2 separate regions of the Homo sapiens genome follow, and region 2 is linked to region 1. The links are contacts of gene promoters, found by promoter capture Hi-C in human tissues and cell types (Jung and others, 2019). All regions are on one chromosome and are shown on one strand. Each heading gives the region's core, a stretch centred on a gene start or on the middle of the fragment in contact. The rest is flanking DNA. Distances are from core to core; before and after follow the strand shown.

Region 1 (4,468 bases), core at 1,142-3,641:
CCATGTGCCTTTGCCACCCAAAGTGCAGGGATTACAGGCATAAGCCACCAAGCCCGGCCCAGAAATGTTTTCTTTTGGGAGGATTTATCTCTTAATCTTTACCGCTTGGCCTTGCCAACTTAATTTGCAGATTAATTCCCCCCAAAGACAGATGGGGAATAACAGAAATATTTAAGTGTTTGACAGCTTCCTCTTAGTAACGTTCTCCTAGGCTTCATTCCAAGATATCAAGAGAGGTAAACATTTTGCAGTCTTCCAGAGAGGAGCTGAGGTACACGGGAAAAGTTTCATGCTCATGTTACAACTGTAGTGACCCACAGTTTTTCAGGGAGTATAAGAAAAAGATAACACCCAGTGTCAGGCCCTTATAAAGCCTCAACTTTCAGAATCCTTTCACAATGTTAGATTTGCTGATCAATGAATATATAACTGAACATTAAGAGTAATAATGGGGCTGGGTACGGTGGCCCATACCTGTAATCCCAGCACTTTTAGAGGCCAAGGCAGGAGGATCACTTGAGCCCAGGAGTTTGAGACCAGCCTGGGCCACATGGTGAAACCCCGTCTCTATAAAAAATACAAAAATTAGCCGGGTGTGGTGGTGTATTGCCAGTTACTTGGGAGGCTGAGGTGGGAGGATCAGCTGAGCCCAGAAGTTTGAGGATGCAGTGAGCTATGATTGTGCCACTGCACCATTCCAGCCTGGGTGACAGAGTGAGACCCTGTCTCAAAAAGAAAAAAAAAAAAGACTAATAATGGCAAACATTTACTTGGCATTTACCGTCAGTCAGCCACAATGCTGAACACCATGATTGTCTCAGCTAAAGGATACACCACCTCTCTGATAGTTAACAAGTAACTGATCATTAACTGAGTGCTTACTGTATGCCAGCCATTGGTTTAACCTCATTAGATATGTTACCTCATTTCATCCTCACACAATCCCCAAGGAAGGATTATTATCATCCCTTTTTTATAGATGAGGAAGCTGAAACTTAGAGAGGTTGACTTGCCCAAAGTCACTTAACAGCTGAGAATATCTGTGGAGGGAAGGCGAAATCCCATGCCAGGCAGCCTGACCTCAGACCCTGCACTCTCAGTCCCCAAGCCGTGACAATATTTGAAATGTTCTGAGGCTACTGATATAAGAAAAAACAATTTTTTTCCAGACAGAATTTTGATTCTTTCACATCTGTCCTATTGCTGGGCAAAACCTCTTGTGTGTTCTGTGATTGGATCTGCTTTCAGAGTGCTGAGAGCTCTGTGCAGGGGAGAAAATCCTTCAAAAACCTAGGAGAATGATAATAAAAGCAATAGTGATAATAAATGATAATGATAAGAATTATAAAAATATAAATTTTATAAAATTATAACATATAAGTATAAAATTTACAAAATATATACTTATATAAAAGATAAATATATATAAGATAAAATATAAATACATATATATTTTATAAGATAAATAAATAAATAAATATATTTTTGAGACGGAGTCTGGCTCTGTCGCCCAGGTTTGAGTGCAGTGGTGCAATCGCGGCTCACTGCAACCTCCGCCTCCCAGATTCATACAATTCTCCTGCCTCAGCCTCCTGAGTAGCTGGGATAATAGGCGCCTGCCACCACGCCTGGCTAATTTTTTGTATTTTTAGTAGAGACGGGGTTTCACCATGTTGATCAGGCTGGTCTCAGACTCCTGACATTGTGATCCGCCCGCCTCGGCCTCCCAAATTGCTGGGATTACAGGCATGAGCCGCCAGACCCGGCCTATATGTATTTTATATATATCAAGTATGTATATCTGATATATATATATAAAACAAAGTATATCTATTTTGTAAATATATATTTATTTTATAAAAATATAAAATATAAATAATACATCATAAACGATAGTAAAGATAATAAACACAGCGCGGCAGCCCCATCCCCTTTTTCTACTCACCCCTAAAACAAATCCGTATAAAAATCAAGTTTATTAAGGAGCAAGTCCCACCCTTTTTATTTAGAAGCCAGTGTCTATAGGATCGCTCTTGGCTATTGTTGGATTAATTCCAGGGTAGGGGAAAACTCCAGTTTTTGAGCCGGACACGCACTCCTGCTTTTCAGGACCTTTTTAATTTTGATGTTTTCAACTTTTAGGCCCAGGGGTCCATGTACAGGTTGCTATATAGGTAAATTGCGTGTCACGGGGGTTGGGTGCACAGATTGTTTCGTCACCCAGGTACTAAGTGGAGCACCGGATAGGTAGTTTTTCAGCCCTCACTCTCCCCACCAGAGTCAAGCAGCAAAAATGCTAGGCCTTGTGGGCGGGGCCGGGGTGCCCGCTCTTGCCACTGGTCCAATCACAGCGCGGCGTTCCTCCTGGCCGGCCGCCGATTGGTGGTTGCCATAGCTCCGGGCGTTCGCTTGCAAGATGGCGGCGGCGGGGCAGTGGCTGCTGCGTTTTCGTGTCTGAGTCCTTCCTGGGTTCTAATGAGGGCGCGGTTCTGCTGTGCCCGGCCCGCGAGGTCTAAGGCATGGGCTTCCAGCCTCCGGCCGCTCTTCTTTTGAGGCTTTTCCTTCTGCAGGGCATCCTGAGGCTTCTGTGGGGGGACCTGGGTGTGTACGGCGCGGCAGTGACCTCGGTGGGCCGGGGCTGAGGGGACTGGGCGTTAAAAGGGCCAGACTTGGACTCCCCCGGGAGCTTCGGGAGTCGACAACGCCAAAGCAAGCCGCCACACACACCTTAGGCGGTGATTCTTCCACTGCTAACCCCTCCTTGTCCCCTTTCCTTCCCGCCTAGCTTTCATCCCTCCTTTTATCCGAATGTCCGGCCCTGCGGTCAGCGCGTCCCTGGTCGGAGACACCGAGGGTGTGACCGTGTCCCTGGCAGTGCTGCAGGACGAGGCGGGTAAAGTCCGGCCCTCTTTTGGGGAGGGTGGGGGTTGGACTGGATCCAGACCTCCCAAGGAGCCTGGAGAGGTGGCATCCTTGGGGCCCCCTGCCTCTGTTCTCTGCAAAGTCGCATGGGGAGAAAAGGATCGGGCGGCTGCTGTAGGCCAAAGAGGACAGACGGACAGGTTCGAAGAAAGCCTGAAATAATAATGGTTAGCATTCATTGAGCTAACATCGTGCATCATCCCATTTTCCTAGTAAGAACAGTAATATCTTTTCATCCCCTTTGACCAAGGAAGAAACAAGTTCAGAGAGGTTGTCACTGTCCCAGTGTCAAGCAGCTTGTAAAGGGCCCAATCTTAGGCTGTAATGTGAGTCCATCCTAGGCAGTCTGACTCAATGCACCCCCTGAGCTGCTGGACCTTGCTGCCTTTGCATGCTGGTCTTCTTTCTTTAGGAATATTGCCAATTCCGACGTGTGGAGTGCTGAACAATGAGACGGAAGACTGGAGCGTGACTGTGATCCCCGGTGCGGTAAGGCCAGAAGTAAACCTTCTCTGTAGCCTGTGAAGAGGCCCCCAGCTAGGGTTTCTGCAGTGCTCTCTTTATTTAACAAGGCATGGCTTTCTCCATGCTCTCAACAATCATGAAATTGTGGGCTGTTGGATCTGGTAGACACTTATCCAGCCCACGGGTTCCTTACCCTGGGGTTAGGAGTCCTTGGATGTATTTCAGTGGGTCTGTGAACTCTATGAAATTGTATGTAAAGTTCTGTGTGTATGTGCATTTTTCTGATGAGAGGGTCACCAGTTTCCTTTAGATCATCAAATGGGTCAGTGATTCAAAAAAGCTTTATGCCAGGCATCGTGGCTCACGCCTGTACTCATAGCGCTTTGGGAGATTGAGGCGGGAGGATTGCTTGAGCCCAGGAGTTCCAGACCAGCCTGTAACATAGCGAGACCTCGTCTCTACAAAACAATTAAAAAAAAAATTAGGTGGGTGGCGTACACCTACAGTCCCAGATACTTGGAGGGGGGTGGGGTAGCTGAGGCAAGAGGATTATTTGAGCCCAGGAGTTCAGGGCTGCAGAGAGCTATGATCGCACCACTGCACTTCATCCAGCCTGGGCAACAGAGCAAGACCCTGTCTCTTAAAAAAAAAGAAAAAGCTGGTCAGGCGCGGTGGCTCACGCCTGTAATCCTAGCACTTTGGGAGGCCGAGGAGGGCGGATCATCTGAGGTCAGGAGTTCAAGACCAGTCTGGCCAACATGGTGAAACCCATCTCTACTAAAAATACAAAAATTAGCTGGGCGTGATGGCGGGTGCCTGTAATCTCAGCTACTTTGGAGGCTGAGGCAGGAGAATCACTTGAACCCGGGAGGCAGAGATTGCAGTGAGCCGAGATCACGCCACTGCACTCCAGCTTGGGTGATGAGCGAGACTCCGTCTCAAAAAAAAAAGCTTCATAACCACTGATCTTGCCCAACTCTGAGCTTATGTGTAAGGATACTCAAACCTGGAGAGATTAAGCATCTTCTATTTAATAAGTGTTTATTGGATACCTAGTATATGCAACATCAATTCTGGAGAG
Region 2 (4,282 bases), core at 37-2,536, 260 kb after region 1:
CGGAAGTTTCTCTTCCACTTTCTCCGTTGAGACCTGGGGTCTATGGCAGGGGAGACCTGAACCATGTTCACTCTGCTAGCTCATGGCAAGTGGGCTCCTAGGTCAGAATTAGCTCTTGCAAAAACCATCAGGTGGCTTTCTTGTAACCCCTGACGGGGCCAGGGGCATGGGAGCCACAGAGCAGCATGGACTAACTTGGTTGGAACTCTTTGATTATGCCAGAACTTCAGGTCCCTTAGACATTGGTTACTGACTGTGCAAATGAGAGCTGGAAACTGCTGTTTCCCCGGGTCCATGTTGTCTTAGAGTTCTTTTAACTGCAAGGAACAAAAGCTCTTTTGAGATGGCTTAAGGACTGGGGACTTACGGTAAAGATGCAGGGACTCTCCAGGTCTCAGTGGCAGGGGAGGTGGCAGGTGTCCGGGCCACCACTCTCTCTGGGGCCACAGGAGTGTGTTCCTCTCTTTGCACATCTGCTGGGTCCTCCTCCCCGGAGACCACTTTCTCTGTGAGGCTTCGACTTCCTGCTCCCCAGCCACTTCGGCTCACAGGGTAGCTGGGGTTGCCATGGTGCCCATTCTGACTCTGGGACCATGCATCTTTCTAGCCTGGGGGCCCAGGGTGGTCTAAGTCCGTGGGCCTTGATGCCCCAGGAATGAGGATTCCTGGGGGAGAGGCCACCGCCCCACACCCATTTCTCTGGGCCATGGGGCAGGGCCACAGGGTCTCCTGTCTGGGCTGCTCCTCCACAGAGGGAAGGTGGGCAGGACAGAAATGCTGGAGAAGGGCCTGGGCTGTCCCCAATGCGCTGGGGAGGAGGCCAGCCAGTGGCCTGTGTGTCGCTGTGTGTGCGCCTGATAGAGCCACTCCGTGGCAGGCTGTGCATGCTCCAGTTGTATCCAGTCTCTGCCTTGTGTCCCTAGGATGCTTTGTCTCAGGACTGTACCTGGAAGGTGCTGACTGGGATATAGAAAAAGGATGTCTTATCAAGAGCAAACCCAAGGTGCTGGTTGTGGACCTGCCGATCCTGAAGATCATCCCCATTGAAGCCCATCGCCTCAAGCTGCAGGTGAAGGTCCCAGCCCCTCCTCTCTGACACCAGGGCCCTTCCTCTTCTGACTGTAGTTATGGCTGAGGTGGTTTCCAACAGTCCTACTTTTTAAAACAGGGGTGCCTAAGCTTTATGGGCTGGGGAGAGTCTTGGAGCCGTGATAAAAGCTACGGATAGCTGCTTCCTGGAAAAGGCGCGGCTGTATGTGTGTGTGGATGCCGGTCCTTCCAGAGGTGTCAGGCTCAAGCTGTGATCCTGTGGTCTAGACTAACCAAGGGGAGACTCCCTCCCTTCTTGCAAAATGCTGCAGACATTGCCTGAGTCATAAAGTGGTTCCCGCTGGTGTGGACAGCAGATGTCTTCTGCTCTGCCTGGGCCAGGACCCACTTTTAACCAGGGTGTCAGTGTGAAGCCAGGTCCCCGTGAAGCTGGCGGAGGGTGGCCCTGAGCAGCCCCAGCCTTGTGCGTGTTCTCAGGTGCAGTCTTGCACAGGGGCCCCTGCCTGTCAAGACTTACACTGCACCTCTGCCTTTATCCCTCTGCACCCTCTCTCCGTGGGGGCATCTCACCTGCCTTTCCCTTGCAGAATACTTTCCGGACCCCCGTCTACACCACCTCCATGAGAAGGAACGCCATGGGAGTCGGCTTGGTTTTTGAAGCTGATCTCTTTACCACGAGGCACATTTCTCACTGGGTGCTGCAAGGAGTATGCCTCACCCTGAATTCTGATTAACCTTTGGGTGAAGAAAACTGCTTAATGAATTCGGAGCCTGGGGTTGTCAGAGTGATCGGGTCTGCTGTCATTTCTTGGGGCCTCTCAAGAGGCAGGAGGGGGACTGACACTGATTTTTCATTTGAAATCAGCCACTTAAATCTCTTTCCATACAAATTAACCTGAATGGTTTTGTTTTTAATACTACTTTTTAAAAGGAATTTATATAATCAAAAAGTAAATATTGGAGAGTATTTTAAGATGTGTGGAGTTTTCTTTTCCTTCTCAGAGAAAACACTTGATTAGGCAAAAGTGCCTGGCATACATAGCATTGGCACAAGTGAGAATCCTAATGTAATTTCCAAAGGTGTGTTTTCGATGATCCAGGTCTGTTTCAGCAGATGCTCCTTTTTGGCAAGAAGGGCTGATGATGTCGGGCACAGAGCAGAAGTGACCAGTCACCTGGAGCCACTTCTCCCCCTTCCAGAACTCTCTGGCCCTAGCTTCTTTGGCTCTGACCTGCTACGGCGACTGTGAAGTTGTTGAGCTTAGTGTTTAGTTCCTGCATGAGCTTCTACCCCCAGCCTGCCTGGGTCTGTGTGGGGTCAGGTAAGGACACAGAACCTCCAGGACCAGTGGTCACTGGGCACCCCTTCCCTCTGTGCACCATGAGGCTGGCCTGGAGCCCTGGCTGGCCACCTGGAGGTGAGGGGTGGCTTCACTCCATGAGGGAGGAGAGGGGCTAGCACGGGCAGCACAGTGGGCAGGGGCCATCAGAGGCAAAAGCAGCTTCCCACAGAAGCTCAGGAGCGCAGCACATTCTAAGGACTAGCTCTGGGCCGGGAGGAGGCCGGAGTCGCTTCTGGGACCTGTGATTGCTCTCCCTCCTGCAGTCTCCTAGCCCTCCTTCAGGTGTTTGTTTAATAAAAGACACAAAACAGAAGGAAGGCAGGTTTAGAAAATAAAGTTTGTTGGGATCTTAAACATTTTGGATAAAACTAACAAAAAAATATGAACACACATTCAGGTTGTGGTGCTATGAGGAGTAGCGTCATCTTATTTAGTTCCTTGAGATACACGCACGGCTGCTCGGTGATCGGTGCCGCCCTGGGAAAGGTTGGTCAGGAGGTGACAGGGGTCTCCAGGAGGAGCTCGGGAGGTGACAAGGGTCTCCAGGAGGGAGCAGGGGCTGCTCGGCCAGGCTGCCCTGGAGCTTGAGGATAAGGTCAAGGTTGGTATGTGTTGCTCCGACTTGAGAATGAATTAGGTGTGTGACTGTGTGGCATCGTGAACATCAGTAGTGACGCAGCCGTGGCCTGGGCTTTGCCTGCAGCGCACTTAGGTTACACGGAGCGGGATCAGAAGCAAGCGATTCGGCACACAGGCGTTTGGCCACAGCAATTAGGAAATACATATTCTGCGGCAGGGACACGATCATATTTTGGTGTGAAGAAGAGGGCAAGAGAAGCAGAAGGAGAATGGGTCGGTAGGTGTGAAAAGTGTTTGGCATGCATGGGATTAAACAGAAAAGGTGTGGCTGAGATTTCCCAGTGGTGCTCACAGTGCATGGACAGCGCGGGGTGGGGCACGGCGGGCTTCACACAGTTCTGTCCGTCCCTGAGTGCTTCCTCACCACCTTGCCTCCGTTCACCTGGTCGACCGCCAGGGTCTTCACCTCGGGCTGGGCCTGCGGCGGGGTGGCGTGGTGGATCCGATGTGCCACCCCGACGTGGGCCTTGTGCGGCTTTTCGCGGGCCGGGCTGTGCTGCTCGCCGCTTCGGTCGGAGGCGATGGGGGGGATGACGAGGGGCCTCTCTTTGATGAGGTGGACCTCGGCGGACTCCCTAGCCAGCAGAAATGGGGTGGGGTCGGGCATAGCATCCACTGGTTCCCGCAAAAGGAGTTTCCTGCTCTCTGCCCCGAATCTGTAGACCTCTTCAAATTCCGGGTGCAAGGGGGCTGAGAGGCTCTTTTTCATGCGGCGGCGAGGCGTTTCGGGTAGCTTGTCTTTGGGGGGCGCTGGCTTGTAGCTGGCCAGCACGGGGCTCCCTGACGGGCTGGCATCTGAGGTCCCGCTGGAGCTCATGAGCTTCTTCTTGGCGGCGTGCAGCTGGGAGGTCAGGTAGGCGATGGTGCTGGCCCGCTGCTCCAGCTCGCTAGACAGCAGGGTCAGCTTGTGACTCTTGGCCTTCAGCTCCTCCAGGTACTTCTTCTCTCGCTCCTTGATGGTGTTCTCCAGCACTGTGATCATCGCGTTTTTCTGCTCCAGTTCTTTCAACAACTCAGCATTTTCGTTCTCTTTCACTTTCAGTTGGGCTTCCAGCTCTTCACATCTTTTCTTTAATTCACTGCTTTTAGAAGTCCCGTCTCCTACAAGAATAAGCCGAGGAAGCAGGTGAAGAACTCATTAGACTGAGGCCGAGTGGTGAGGCCTATGGGGCAGGCGGACCTGTCTGGTGGGGGCCCTGTCTAGGCTGTGGGGGCCATGCAGAAGGCAGGGCTGTGGGGGCTCTGGAAAG

What was found. Contacts are between HindIII fragments. The study calls those that stand out against the background at their distance.
Region 2: the fragment with the promoter of DNAH10OS here is called in contact with the fragment with the promoter of TCTN2 in region 1 in 1 of the 25 tissues and cell types used here (mesenchymal stem cells).

Annotation. Positions count from the first base shown.
Region 1 is chr12:123,668,722-123,673,189 of GRCh38, forward strand. It overlaps TCTN2 (tectonic family member 2), which reads left to right and starts at 2,392. Exons shown (of 18, transcript NM_024809.5): 1 at 2,392-2,601; 2 at 2,786-2,893; 3 at 3,335-3,411. The coding sequence starts at 2,520. The HindIII fragment of the contact is 13,736 bases long and covers 1-4,032 here.
Region 2 is chr12:123,933,698-123,937,979 of GRCh38, forward strand. It overlaps DNAH10OS (dynein axonemal heavy chain 10 opposite strand), which reads right to left and starts at 1,287. Exons shown (of 2, transcript NR_187476.1): 1 at 368-1,287. It overlaps DNAH10 (dynein axonemal heavy chain 10), which reads left to right. Exons shown (of 79, transcript NM_001372106.1): 78 at 924-1,069; 79 at 1,638-2,017. The coding sequence ends at 1,784. It overlaps CCDC92 (coiled-coil domain containing 92), which reads right to left. Exons shown (of 5, transcript NM_025140.3): 5 at 1,929-4,133. The coding sequence ends at 3,361. The HindIII fragment of the contact is 2,982 bases long and covers 243-3,224 here.